Regions from separate parts of the Homo sapiens genome. Here region 2 is linked to region 1. Evidence: promoter capture Hi-C in 16 types of primary human blood cells and fetal thymus (Javierre and others, 2016). All regions are on one chromosome and are shown on one strand. The core of a region is centred on a gene start or on the middle of the fragment in contact, and the rest is flanking DNA. Distances in the headings are between cores, read along the strand shown.

Evidence for each region. The method cuts DNA at HindIII sites, captures the fragments that hold promoters and counts their contacts. A CHiCAGO score of 5 or more calls a contact.
Region 2: a fragment that was not itself captured here is called in contact with the fragment with the promoter of CDC6 in region 1 in 8 of 17 cell types (M0 macrophages, megakaryocytes, erythroblasts and 5 more); the score reaches 11.5 in M0 macrophages.

What each region holds. Positions count from the first base shown.
Region 1 is chr17:40,284,341-40,290,652 of GRCh38, reverse strand. It overlaps CDC6 (cell division cycle 6), which reads right to left and starts at 2,774. Exons shown (of 12, transcript NM_001254.4): 1 at 2,563-2,774; 2 at 1,055-1,245. The coding sequence starts at 1,232. RefSeq lists enhancers at 2,159-2,228, 2,259-2,438, 2,207-3,014. The HindIII fragment of the contact is 8,752 bases long and covers 1-4,232 here.
Region 2 is chr17:40,027,591-40,033,902 of GRCh38, reverse strand. It overlaps MED24 (mediator complex subunit 24), which reads left to right. Exons shown (of 26, transcript NM_014815.4): 7 at 447-558; 8 at 697-847; 9 at 1,141-1,254; 10 at 1,813-1,860; 11 at 2,283-2,365; 12 at 2,658-2,744; 13 at 4,044-4,155; 14 at 4,935-5,077; 15 at 5,957-5,994. It overlaps SNORD124 (small nucleolar RNA, C/D box 124), which reads left to right and starts at 6,258; the gene lies at 6,258-6,312. The HindIII fragment of the contact is 4,950 bases long and covers 1,183-6,132 here.

The DNA.
Region 1 (6,312 bases), core at 1,525-4,024:
AAAAACACAGTATATGTAGGGTTTGGTACTGTCCTCGATTGCAGGCGTCCACTGGGGGTCTTGGAATGTATCCCCCATGGATAAGTGGGGACTACTGCATTTAGTAGAAACCAAATGGGTTTTAGTAGGATGAAATTGTAAGGCTATTTTGAAACAGGTTTTCTCAACCTTGGCACCACTGACATCTTGGACCAAATAATTCTTCATTGTCAAGGAGCTGTCCTGTGCATTGTAATGTCTAGCAGCATCCCTGGCCTCTACCCACTATGCCAGTAGCAACCCCCAGCTGTAACAACCAAAAATGTCTCCAGAAACAACCAAATTACCCCCCATTTAAAAATAAATGTTCCAAAACAAGAAAGAATTACCAATCACTGTCCTAAAGGATGGAAAATATTCATCATGTCACGTTTTTGTTTCTTTTAATTTCACAAATATTGAGGTAAGTTTCATAATACCATGTAACTACAAGGTAACTTAAAACATTGACAGAACTAAGTTCAGTATTAAGGAATTGAAGATCAGACTTATTAAGTAGTTCAGAGTGACCTCAGTAAGTGTCTAACTCTGGAGTTCGGTAAGCACTTAGCAACCATTCTGAAAATAACTAAAATGAAGAGTAGTCTTAGGCCAGGAGCGGTAGCTCATGCCTATAATCCCAGCACTTTGGGAGGCCGAGGCAGTTGGATCACCTGAGGTCAGGAGTTCAGAGACCAGATTGGCCAATATGGCAAAACCCTGTCTCAACTAAAAATCCAAAAAAAAAAAAAAAAAAAATTAGCCAGGCTTGGTGGTGGGCGCCTGTAATCCCAGCTACTTGGGAGGCTGAGGCAGGAGAATCGCTTGAACCCAGGAGGCGGAGGTTGCAGTGAGCCAAGATCGCACTATTGCACTCCAGCCTGGGAGATGGAGCGAGACTCTGTCTCAAAAAAAAAAAAAAAAAAAAAAAGAAGTCTTAACTGAACTTAGAAAGCTCCTTCAAAGGACACACATCTTACCAAGAAAAGAAAGGTCACGAGCTGCTAGTGAAAAAGTGATATAATGGATGGTTTACCCAGACGTTTCCTGGGGCTGAGAGGCAGGGCTTTTACACGAGGAGAACAGGTTACGGTTTGGACATTTGTTGGTTCTAGTTTGGCATCACTGGAGTTTTTAGCTTTGTTCAATGCCCGAGACAGCTTCCTTTTTGGAAAACTGATTGTAGCCTGTGCCTGGGATCGGGTTTGAGGCATGACGACAGCACAGCTAGATTAAAAAAAATAAGAGGACAACTAGTCAATATGTGAAAGTGAAGAGAAAATAACTAACATGGAATTTATTTATACTGATGATTAACACTTATTTCCTAATTATGTTATCACACTTATTTTAGCATTCACTTTTGCTTCACATCCAAATCTATGCAAGAACAGCTGACATTTGTTGTCTACCTACTACGTGGAAGGGCGCTGTTATAAACACTTTAGGTACCAACTCGTTTAACAACGATCTTAGGAGTAGGTACTATTATTAGCCTTTATTTTACACATGAGAAAACTGAGATAAACAGTGGCCCAAAGTCACAGAAAAACAGGAATGTAACCCCGGGCATCTGGTGCCAGAGCCCAAGTTCTTAACCAATTGAGCGATGCAATAACAAGTTACCTGAAATGGGCCGGGCGCGGTGGCCCACGCCTGTAATCCCAGCACTTTGGGAGGCTGAGGCGGGCGGATCACCTGAGGTCAGGAGTTCGAGACCAGCCTGACCAACATGGAGAAACCCCGTCTCTACTAAAAATACAAAAATTACGGCCAAACGCGGTGGCTCACGCCTGTAATCCCAACACTTTGGGAGGCCGAGACGGGCCGAGACCATCCTGGCTAACACGGTGAAACCCCGTCTCTACTAAAAATGCAAAAAATTAGCCGGGCGTGGTGGTGGGCGCCTGTAGTCCCAGCTACTCGGGAGGCTGAGGCAGGAGAATGGCATGAACCCGGGAGGCGGAGCTTGCAGTGAGCCGAGATCGCGCCACTGCACTCCAGCCTGGGAGACCGAGCGAGACTCCGTCTCAAAAAAAAAAAAAAAATTAGCCGGACGTGGTGGCGGGCGCCTGTAGTCCCAGCTACATGAAGAGGCTGAGGCAGGAGAATGGCTTGAACCCGGCAGGCAGAGGTTGCAGTGAGCCGAGATCGCACCACTGCACTACAGCCTGGGCGACAAGAGCGAGACTCCGTCTCAAAAAAAAAAAAAAGTTACATGAATTGATTTATATAGAACTTCTAGTTTCCTCCCTCCAGGCACGCGGGGTGTCTTTATCACCAGTTCAGCCCAGCACCCGCCACATTTAGTCTCTTCTATCCCAAGCCCTCACACTGCAGCTCAGTCTTCCCTCAGTTCTTTCCGCCCCTGCACTCAGTCCTCATTCTAGGCAGCTCTCAACGCACCCCAGAATATTTCCTTCCTACAACTTTCACCTCCTTCACACCACGCATAACTGCTAGAACTACCCCGAGGGCACCTGCCCTTTCCCTGATCCCGACCTCAGACCTCCAGCGAGCTCAGCTCTTTTCCCTTCACTTCACCTCAGGCCTCGCCGGAACCCGCAGCCTTCACCCAGCTCCGCTGCCTCACAGACCCCAGGCCTCCTCGAGCAATCCTCTTCTTTCCACCTCCTCAGTGCAGGATCCTTCTCACGTCTCTCACACGCAGCCTCTCGGACTCACCACCACAAGCCCCTGAACAAACTGCACAGCGGCAGCAGCAAACTCCAGCCGCGCTCGCGCCAAATCCGAATGGCCACAGCGTTCCCACCTCCCGCCAAAGCCCGGCCTCGATTCTGATTGGCTGTAGTCACAGAGCCTTTCGCCTTGGGCACCGCCTCTTTTTTTGCTACCAATCCAGTGGAAGAGTTACAGCCAATGAGAGAGCCCCAAGTCTTAGAGTCGCTGTGAGGCCACGACCACTGAACGGGGGAGGGAATCTACATCCGGGGCCTCGGTGGAAAGACGCGCGATTGCGGCAGGGCGACTCTGGGTAAAGCGGGCCGGCCCGCCGCAAAGCACGCTGGGAGGCGTAGTCTTTGCTGCCGCGCAGTCGCACTCTTCCTTCGACTGGAAGTGTCAAGATGTGGTTCCCCTTCTCACTGCCTAAAGTACCCATTTGCATCATCCTGATGGGCTAGATTTTCAGAACTGCTACATGATACCTACCGTTTTGGGTTCTGTGCGCCAGGTATGATGCTAGGCACTTTCCTTACCTCTCTAATGCTCAACCTCGCAAAGTACAAAGCAAACTTCTATACAAGGTTAGAGGTCACAGCATCTTGGTGACAGTGAAGAGCCTAGGATCCAGATCTCCTGATGGCTGAACTAGTGATTTTTATGGTAAAGTTCTACACACCTATATAAAGAAAAACTATGCTTCATCATAGTATCTCTTGATTTGTGCTTCAAAGGTGAGAAACAGAGCCAACTCTTTACTTTTATTTCGTTCAACCTAAGAATATTATGTTCTGTGCATCTTCTTACCATTAATCCACACATCATGGGGAGGGAATTATGACCCCTTAATTTTAAAATCTTTTATGGCGAAACACTAGGGTTTCAGGGCCAGGGAAGACAGCTATATAGAAGAGGCAAGCTGAGTTTTTAATGAAAAATATAAATTAGCGCAGTAATTTGAAGGCCAGCTTCCAAAGCCAATAATTCATCTAAGCCTCAGGTTCCTTTAGAGGCCAGAACCCAATTCTAGGTGATGGTAAACATTTATCTTTTACCCCTCAGTAACAAACAAAATAGAGCCATAAAGCCTAGAAAGAGGGAAGCAACAATATTACGATCATCAGTGAATTGGTACCTAGTTCATGAAGAGAGCCAATATTGAGTGCTTAAGTGTATGCCAGGGGCTGTGCTCAGTATTTTACCTACATCACCTTATTAATCTTCACAAGCACCCCCATGAACCTGGTGTTATTTCACTTTACAAATGAGGGAACTACAGTAGAGGGGAGTTGAGTAAACTTGCCCAAGGTCACACAACTAGTAAGTGGAAGAGCTAGAATTTGAACTCTGAACTCTGACAGAAAATCAAACTCTTGACCACTTTATCATAGGGGGATGATTAGACAGATTCAGGTTCTAAACAGGAAGAGATGGTGGAGTACATTTCGTGAAGGCTTTTTAGCAGCTGAAAACTACAAAAGTGAAGAGAATGGGCTGCCATGAATGGAGAAAGTTACCACACAATGGAAGCTTTTTTTTTTTTTATTTTTGAGACAAGTCTCATTTTATCACCCAGGCTTGAGTGCCGTGCCATGATCTCGGCTCACTGCAATCTCCACCACCTGGGTTCAAGCCATTCTCCTGCCTCAGCCTCCTGAGTAGCCGGGACTACAGGCACGCGTCACCACGCCTGGCTAATATTTGAATTTTTAGTAGAGGGGTTTCACCATGTTGGCCAGGTTGGTCTCAAACTCCTGACTTCATGATCCACCCACCTCAGCCTCCCACAGTGCTGGGATTACAGGCATGAACCACCGCTCTTGGCCACAGTGGAAGCTTTTAAAAGGACTAGATGGTATTTCTGATGTCTTAGTAGGATAGTAGAACTCAGGAAGCAACCTTCACTGTTCGTATTTTTATAACATGGGCACCTAAGAATTGCCCTTAATAACCTGAAATGGTAATGTGTGCCCAGCCAGCTGTAAGGGGTGGTTATGGTAAACAACCTAGGAAGCTATGAGTACTTAGCATGCATATTGGAACCTATGAAAACACCAGGAAATGGCTGGGTGCGGTGGCTCACGCCTGTAATCCCAGCACTTTGGGAGGCTGAGGCGGGTGGATCACGAGGTCAGGAAATCGAGACCATCCTGGCTAACACGGTGAAACCCCGTCTCTACTAAAATACAAAAAAATTAGCCAGGCGTGGTGGCGGGTGCCTATAGTCCCAGCCACTCAGAAGGCTGCGGCGGGAGAATGGTGTGAACCCGGGAGGTGGAGCTTGCAGTGAGTGGAGATCACGCCACGCCACTGCACTCCGGCCTGGGCGACAAAGCGAGACTCCGCCTCAAAAAAAAAAGAAAAGAAGACACTAGGAAACATAGCAGTGGCCCAAGAAAAGCCTACAGGTGTAAATGACCACTGTGGAAGCAGGCAAATAATCACAGAATGTCAGGACTGAAAGGTTATCTACTTGAAGCTTTTCCTTTGCACTAATAATGATCCTCCAGTAACGTGATGCGTACACATCATATTGTTTCTTGCTTCTGTGCCTTTGTTTTTGCTGTTTCCTCTGTCTGGAATGCCACTAACCATCCATCTTCCCTGGCTAACTCCCATAAAGCCTTTTAATATCCTGCATAGGTTTCTCCTGGTAGCTATCCTGAAGTCTACTAAACTATGAGTTCCTTGGAGTCAAAGACCATGTCTTAGCCTTGCACAGTGGCATGCATCTGTAATTCCAGCTACTCGGGAGGCTGAGGTGGGAGGATCCCTTGAGCCCAGTTTGAGGACAGCCTGGACAACATAGGGAGACCCATTTCCAAGTTGGAAAAAAAAAAAAAAGACTTTTTATTTGGAGTCTCGCTCTGTCGCCCAGGCTGGAGTGCAGTGGCACAATCTCAGCTCACTGCAACCTCCACCCAACCGGGTTCAAGCAACTCTCCTGCCTCAGCCTCCTGAGTAGCTGGGATTACAGGCGCCCATAATTTTAGTAGACGGGGTTTCACCATATTGGACAGACTGGTCTCAAACTCCTGACCTCAGGTGATCCACCTGCCTCAGCCTCCCAAAGTGCTGGGATTACAGGCGTGAGCCACCGCGCCCGGCAAAAACAGACTTTTCATCTTCATATTGTAGATGCCTGGTACAGAGTAAAGTGTACAATAAGAGCTTGCTGAATGAAGGAATGGAAAGGACATTCTTGCCAAGTGGACATCCACCCTTTGCATAAACACTTGTGGCTGGAGAGCATACAGTCTTTTAAGTCTCACACCCCTAAGCCTAGGAATGGAGAATGAATTCAATTATGTGTGAAAATGATCCAGACTGGGCTCCAGTGATGTCAGAGGCAAAGCATTTCCCCAGTTGTCCTCTGGGGCAGTCAGAATCCTGAGGCTGACATATTTCTAGTTCTAATTCATTTTCCATAGTTCCTTTACCTCTCTTTGCAGAGTACTAGGAAGTTGGAGACAGGCAGCTTTCTTCCAGTGGGTCGTTTAGTTCATGGTTAGATTGGGTTGGGAAATACTTAAGAGGTACATTCATGGCAAGCAGCTCTGCCTCAGTAATGGAAGGAAAACTAGTGTCCTTATCACCTGCTAACTCATACAC
Region 2 (6,312 bases), core at 2,408-4,907, 260 kb after region 1:
AGGGAGTGGTTGAGAATGAGAAAGCCATTTAGGGACCCAGTTCCCCCAGAGGAGAGTGACAGCCTCTGCAAGACTGGACTTTGGGATCCGCTCACTCCTCGAGTGATTTGTGGCCGCCCTCCCTGTTCCAGCCACTGGATTCTGGCCTCCCTCTGCCTCTCTCTCCTGAGCCTGTGTGATGCCATACCTTCTGAAGTCAGCTGGCTGTGTCCCCTGGAAATCAGGCTTTTGGGAATGGTCTCTGGGGTTTCCAGCTCTAGGTGCCCACCCCCCTTCTGGAAACAGTGCATGCTGCCCTCAGGCCCCTCCCTCCCTGTTGTCCTCAGGGGAAGCCTTCCTGTGTGGTTTCGTGTGCCGGAGGGAGTGCCAAAATCGAGGAGTTCAGGGCCAGGTGCTCCTTCTCTCCTGTTTCCCATCATGTTTCTGTACTTCCTTCCCTCTGCCAGCTTCTTGGACTGCCATCGAGCATTCTCTCTTGAAACTTGGAGAGATCCTGGCCAATCTCAGCAACCCGCAGCTCCGGAGTCAGGCCGAGCAGTGTGGCACCCTCATTAGGAGGTACCGGCTCCCTGGGGGATGGTGGAGAAGGGAGAGGGAGGACACGCCCTGGGGTAGGAAGATGTGGCACCCGTGCCATCCTCTCCGCCTTCACCTTTGGCCCCCCAAACACCGTCCCCTGTGTTTGTGACCCCTCAGCATCCCCACGATGCTGTCTGTGCATGCGGAGCAGATGCACAAGACCGGCTTCCCCACTGTCCACGCCGTGATCCTGCTCGAGGGCACCATGAACCTGACAGGCGAGACGCAGTCCCTGGTGGAGCAGCTGACGATGGTGAAGCGCATGCAGGTGGGAGGGGCCGAGTGGCTCTCCCTTCTCCAAGGCAGGCCAGCCTGTTGGGGGCAGGAGGGAGGATTCTTCTGGTTCTCCCTGGGAGAAGTGGGGTTTCTCCTGCTCCATGATGGAAAGTGGGTGCCAGTCGTGCACACTTCTGTCATTGGACCTTACTCCCCTGGTTCTCAGCACATAGCTGAGCAGTGACTCTGCCATGCAGTCTCTGACCCAGCCAAATCCTCAGAGTCCACAGAAGGGTGACGGGGTATGGGCACCCTCTTAGGCCTCATCCTTGGCTCTTCCCACAGCATATCCCCACCCCACTTTTTGTCCTGGAGATCTGGAAAGCTTGCTTCGTGGGGCTCATTGAGTCTCCCGAGGGTACGGAGGAGCTCAAGTGGACAGCTTTCACTTTCCTCAAGGTACTGGGGACGTGGGAGGGGCAGAGCCAGTCTAGGAATGGTTCTTAGCAAGACCAGTGGCACCCTGGACCTTTGCCCTGTGTTCCTCCCTGCGGGCACTGGGCCCAGCCTGCCAGGTATTCCAGTGCAAGTTCCCATTGATCATTTTCTCTGAAAGTGCCAGGGCTATATTTAGCCCATTTGGCAGACTCCGTTGTTTCTTACCACAGAGGTGCAGTTTAGCTTGGTCATCAGACAGATAGGTGCAGGGCAGTAAAGGGAGCCAGGGAAAGGGGCCCCAGTCCTCCTTGAAGCTGGGGATCCACTTTTGCTTATGGCATCTTTTTCTGTTGAGCTAGCGGAGGTGCAGGGTGCTTGTGTCCTGTGCCTAGGCCTGGGGGCATCAGGGGCCTGGGCACCTATTGGCTTTCTCATTTAGCACTAAGTGTGCTCTCACTCCCAGGGTAGGAGTGTTCCTGTCTCTCTTCCTGGAGCAGGGGTTCGGGGGGATGCCTTCAGGGGTAGATGAAAGAGAAAAGAAATGGATCTTCCTGTTTTTCCCCCTGCCTCACCCCCTAGATTCCACAGGTTTTGGTGAAGTTGAAGAAGTACTCTCATGGAGACAAGGTGAGTTGGGGATTGAGATGGAGGCATGGGAGCAGAAATAAGGGCAAAGGGGAGGGTCCTTCAGGCCCCAGCTGGGCAGTGTTCTCATGCCTGGAAGAGAGCCGGATGTGAGTGTACACCTCAGCGTGCACGTGCTTCACAATGTGCATGCTTCAGCATGTGCGTGTGCTTCAGCATGTGCGTGTGCTTCAGTGTGTGCGTGCTTCAGTGTGTGTGTTTCAGCGTGTGTGTGCTTCAGCGTGTACGTGTGCTTCAGCCAGTGTGTGTGCTTCAGCGTCTGCGTGCACCCACAACATACACCCAGGCTCCAGGCAGAAAGCAGCCAGGCAACTCAGGCCGATGCCTCCAGCAGACAAGGTTGCCTGAGATGATCAGGGCCTGGTGGCCCTGGAAACCAGATGGACACTTCTGCCTCTTTCTAGGACTTCACTGAGGATGTCAACTGTGCTTTTGAGTTCCTGCTGAAGCTCACCCCCTTGTTGGACAAAGCTGACCAGCGCTGCAAGTATGAGCTCCCCTGGTCACCCCCGCCCTACTGGAAGGCGTTCTGGGCTCTTCCCCTGATCTCTGTGCCAGAGAAGCCTCAGGGGACTCTGTCTCCTTGTTCACTCCCCTTGGCAGGGGCAGGAAATAGGAGCCCACAGTTGCCAAGTCCCCAGAGCCCCTCTACCGTCCCTCAGGCACTCCAGATTTTCCTCATCCTGAAAGAGGGAGGATGCTGCTCAGGGACCTGCCACTCCCACCCCTCACCATCCTATCCAGGTGCCCAGTTCCCTCAGCATCTTTCTCCCTCACAGCTGTGACTGTACAAACTTCCTGCTCCAAGAATGTGGCAAGCAGGGGCTTCTGTCTGAGGCCAGCGTCAACAACCTTATGGCTAAGCGGTAAGTGTGAACGCACCTGTGCTACCCCAAGAGCCCCTTGACCTCTCTCTTGTTACGGTGGGGCTGCTGCGTGCCTTTCAACCTCCTGTCGAAAGTTTGGGCTGCAAGTGACTGGGACCGTGCCTGGGGGTACAGGGAACAGGAAGGAAAAGAAAGCACAGATGTCTTCAGACCAGAGTTTTACACTCTTAGTCACTGCTCTTTAACTCATACCCATCTTTGTGATAAAAGTAAAAATCCTAGGCTGGAGGCGGGTGGATTACTTGGAGGCCAGGAGTTCAAGACCAGCCTGCCCAACATGGCAAAACCCCATGTCTACTAAAAATACAAAAATCAGCTGGGCGTGGTGGTGTGTGCCTGTAATCTCAGCTACTCTGGAGGCTGAGGCACGAGAATTGCTTGAACCCAGGAGGCGGAGATTGTGGTGAGGCGAAATCATGCCACTGCACCCCAGCCTGGGCGATAGAGTGAGACCTTGTCTCAAAAAAAAAATAAATAAATAAATAAAAATCCTGAATCTTCCTTTAATCTTAAATGTGCTTTCAGAGCATTTAAGACTAATGATAGGCCGGCTGCGGTGGCTCACACCTGTAATCCCAGCATTTGGGAGGCCAAGGCGGGTGGATCACGAGGTCAGGAGTTTGAGACCAGCCTGGCCAACGTGGTGAAACCCCATCTCTACTAAAAATACAAAAATTAATCAGGCGCGATGGTATGCACCTGTAATTCCAGCTACTCAGGAGGCTGAGGCAGGAGAATCACTTGAACCCGGAAAGCAGAGGTTGTACTGAGCTGAGATCGCGCCACTGCATTCCAGCCTGGGTGACAGAGCGAGACTCTGTCTCAAAAAAAAAAAAGACTAATGATAAATTGCCAGGTGTGCTGGCTCACCTGTAATCCCAGGACTTTGGGAAGCCAAGGTGGGTGGATCACCTGAGGTCAGGAGTTTGAGACCAGTAGAACATGGTGAAACCCCGTCTCTACTAAAAATACAAAAAAGTAGCCAGGCGTGGTGGTGAGCGCCCAGCTACTCTGGAGGCAGAGGCTGCAGTGAGCCGAGATCGTGCCACTGTACTCCAGCCTGGGCAACAGAGTGAGACCTGTCTCAAAAAAAAAGACTAATGCTAAATCAGTGATTGCAACATTGACTATGCTTCCATAAACTTCACCCCAACCTCGGAGGTTCTTACATGCTTCCCACCTCCTCTGCGCATTTCCTTCCGGGCTTGAACGAGGGAACGTGTCAAGAATTTCTCTTCATTCCTCTTCCCTTCCTTGGCCAACTGGTGATGTCCACAGCAAAGCGGACCGAGAGCACGCACCCCAGCAGAAATCGGGAGAGAATGCCAACATCCAGCCCAACATCCAGCTGATCCTCCGGGCGGAGCCCACTGTCACAAACATCCTCAAGGTGAGTGTGCCCTTCCCTGGCCACCACAGTCTTCTCTTTCTTCTTTCCAGTGCTCCATCTGCTTGCAGATAAATAAACAGAGGCCACAGACCTCTGTCTCCTTTAGCTTTTATACATAGTTGCTTTGGAGGTAGTGAAAGGGGAGGCAAGGGCAGCTACCACTGAATGCTAACCCGTGGGAGCTTCATTTGTACACCAGGCACTGCAGTAGGCGCTTTCACTTAGGCCATCTCACATGGAAACAACAGAGACGTGGGTGCGGTGGCTCACGCCTGTAATCCCAGCATTTTGGGAGGCTGAGGTGGGAAGATCCCTTGAGGTCAGGAGTTTGAGACCAGCTTGGCCAGCGTGGTGAAACCCAGTCTCTACTAAAAACACAAAATTCACTGGGTGTGGTGGTGCATGCCTGTAATCCCAGTTACTTGGGAGGCTGAGGCAGGAGAATCGCTGAACCCTGGGGGGCAGAGGTTGCAGTGAGCCAAGATCGCACCACTGCACTCCAGCCTCAGCGATAGAGCGAGACTCTGTCTAAAAAAGGAAAGGACAGAGAAGATCCTAGCCGTGACCTTGCCCACTCCAACCTTACCACCTGCATGCCAGTGTAGATGAGAGGGATGGATCGGAGAGCAGGGGTGGGTTTTAGGAATGATTTTCCAGATTGAAGTCAGAAAGATGTAGATTACATTCCAGGTTGTGAAGAGAGAAAATGTGGCTAGGCTGTATCTTGGGTGGGGGGTCTTCAGTGTTCTTCAGGACTTGATTTCCTGTCCTGTCCCCAGACGATGGATGCAGACCACTCTAAGTCACCGGAGGGACTGCTGGGAGTCCTGGGCCACATGCTGTCCGGGAAGAGTCTGGACTTGCTGCTGGCTGCCGCCGCCGCCACTGGAAAGCTGAAATCCTTCGCCCGGAAATTCATCAAGTGAGGAAGGCCAAGCCCCTGACCCCAGGGCGTGCAGGGAGGCTGCGCGTTGGGAGGAGGTAGCAGGGTAGGAGTCAGGTGCCTGGGTCTGGGTCTCATCCAGAGACCCACGGGCCTAGGCAGAGCATCCTGGCTGGAGATCTTGGAGGAAGGGCCTGTTCTCACGACCTAAGTGTTCCTTTCTCTTCAGCTGAGGATGGAGTGGACATGTTTGGTAAAGAGATGAGGGTAAGGGTTGAGGTGTTGAACATTGGGCATGGAGGAATTCCAAGTATGCCCAGTTATTAATAAGGGGCTCTCAAATTCTGTTGCCTTTTTTGATTGCCCTGGAATTTGACATATATAGAACATGGTTCCATTCAGTGAGCCATTCTCTAGGCCTTGGAAATCTTCTAACAATAAAAATCCTTCTGGCCGGGTGCGGTGGCTCACGCCTGTAATCCTAGCACTTAGGGAGGCCAAGGTGGGCGGATCACCTGAGGTCAGGAGTTCAAGACCGGCCTGGCCAACTTGGTGAAACCCTGTCTCTACTAAAAATACAAAAAATTAGCCGGGTGTGGTGGCGGGCACCTGTAATCCCAGCTACTTGGGAGACTGAGGCAGAAGAATTGCTTGAACAGAGGCGGAGGTTGCAGTGAGCTGAGATTGTGCCACTGCACTCCAGCCTGGGTGACAGAGCGAGACTCTTTCTCAAAAAAAACAAAAAAAAAACAAAAAACAAAAACCACAAAAACCTTTTTTCTATAGCAATGTGTCTCATTTTAAGTTTAACCAGTAACTCAGACTCTAGCTATCGCTCTCTGAACATGTGTAGCCCCAGCGCCCAGCTACTGCTCAGCTCATGCCCTGGTCAATGCAGCCTGTCTCCATTCCTTTCAGTTTGAATGAATTCACAACCTATGGCAGCGAAGAAAGCAGTAAGTCAGCCCTGTGCATCCGCAGGCCCAGTGGGCCCTGAGGAGGGGTGTGGCGGGAGAGTGTGGGAGGGAGGAGGGCTCCCCAGCTCAACAGGGGGAGGCTGTGCTCCCTCCTCAGAGCCATGACCAATGGAAGCTTCCACAGAGCTTGAAAGTGGATAATGCTGGAAAAGGATTCTTCCCAGACCATCCCTGTGTCTCCTTCCCCCCCTCATCCCTTTACGACTTGGTTAGGTATGCCAGGAGAGGGTGCTGGGGGTCTTTGGTCTCAAGGAAGGGATGATGTTCCAGTTGAGACTCAAGAAAAGGATTCTGAGC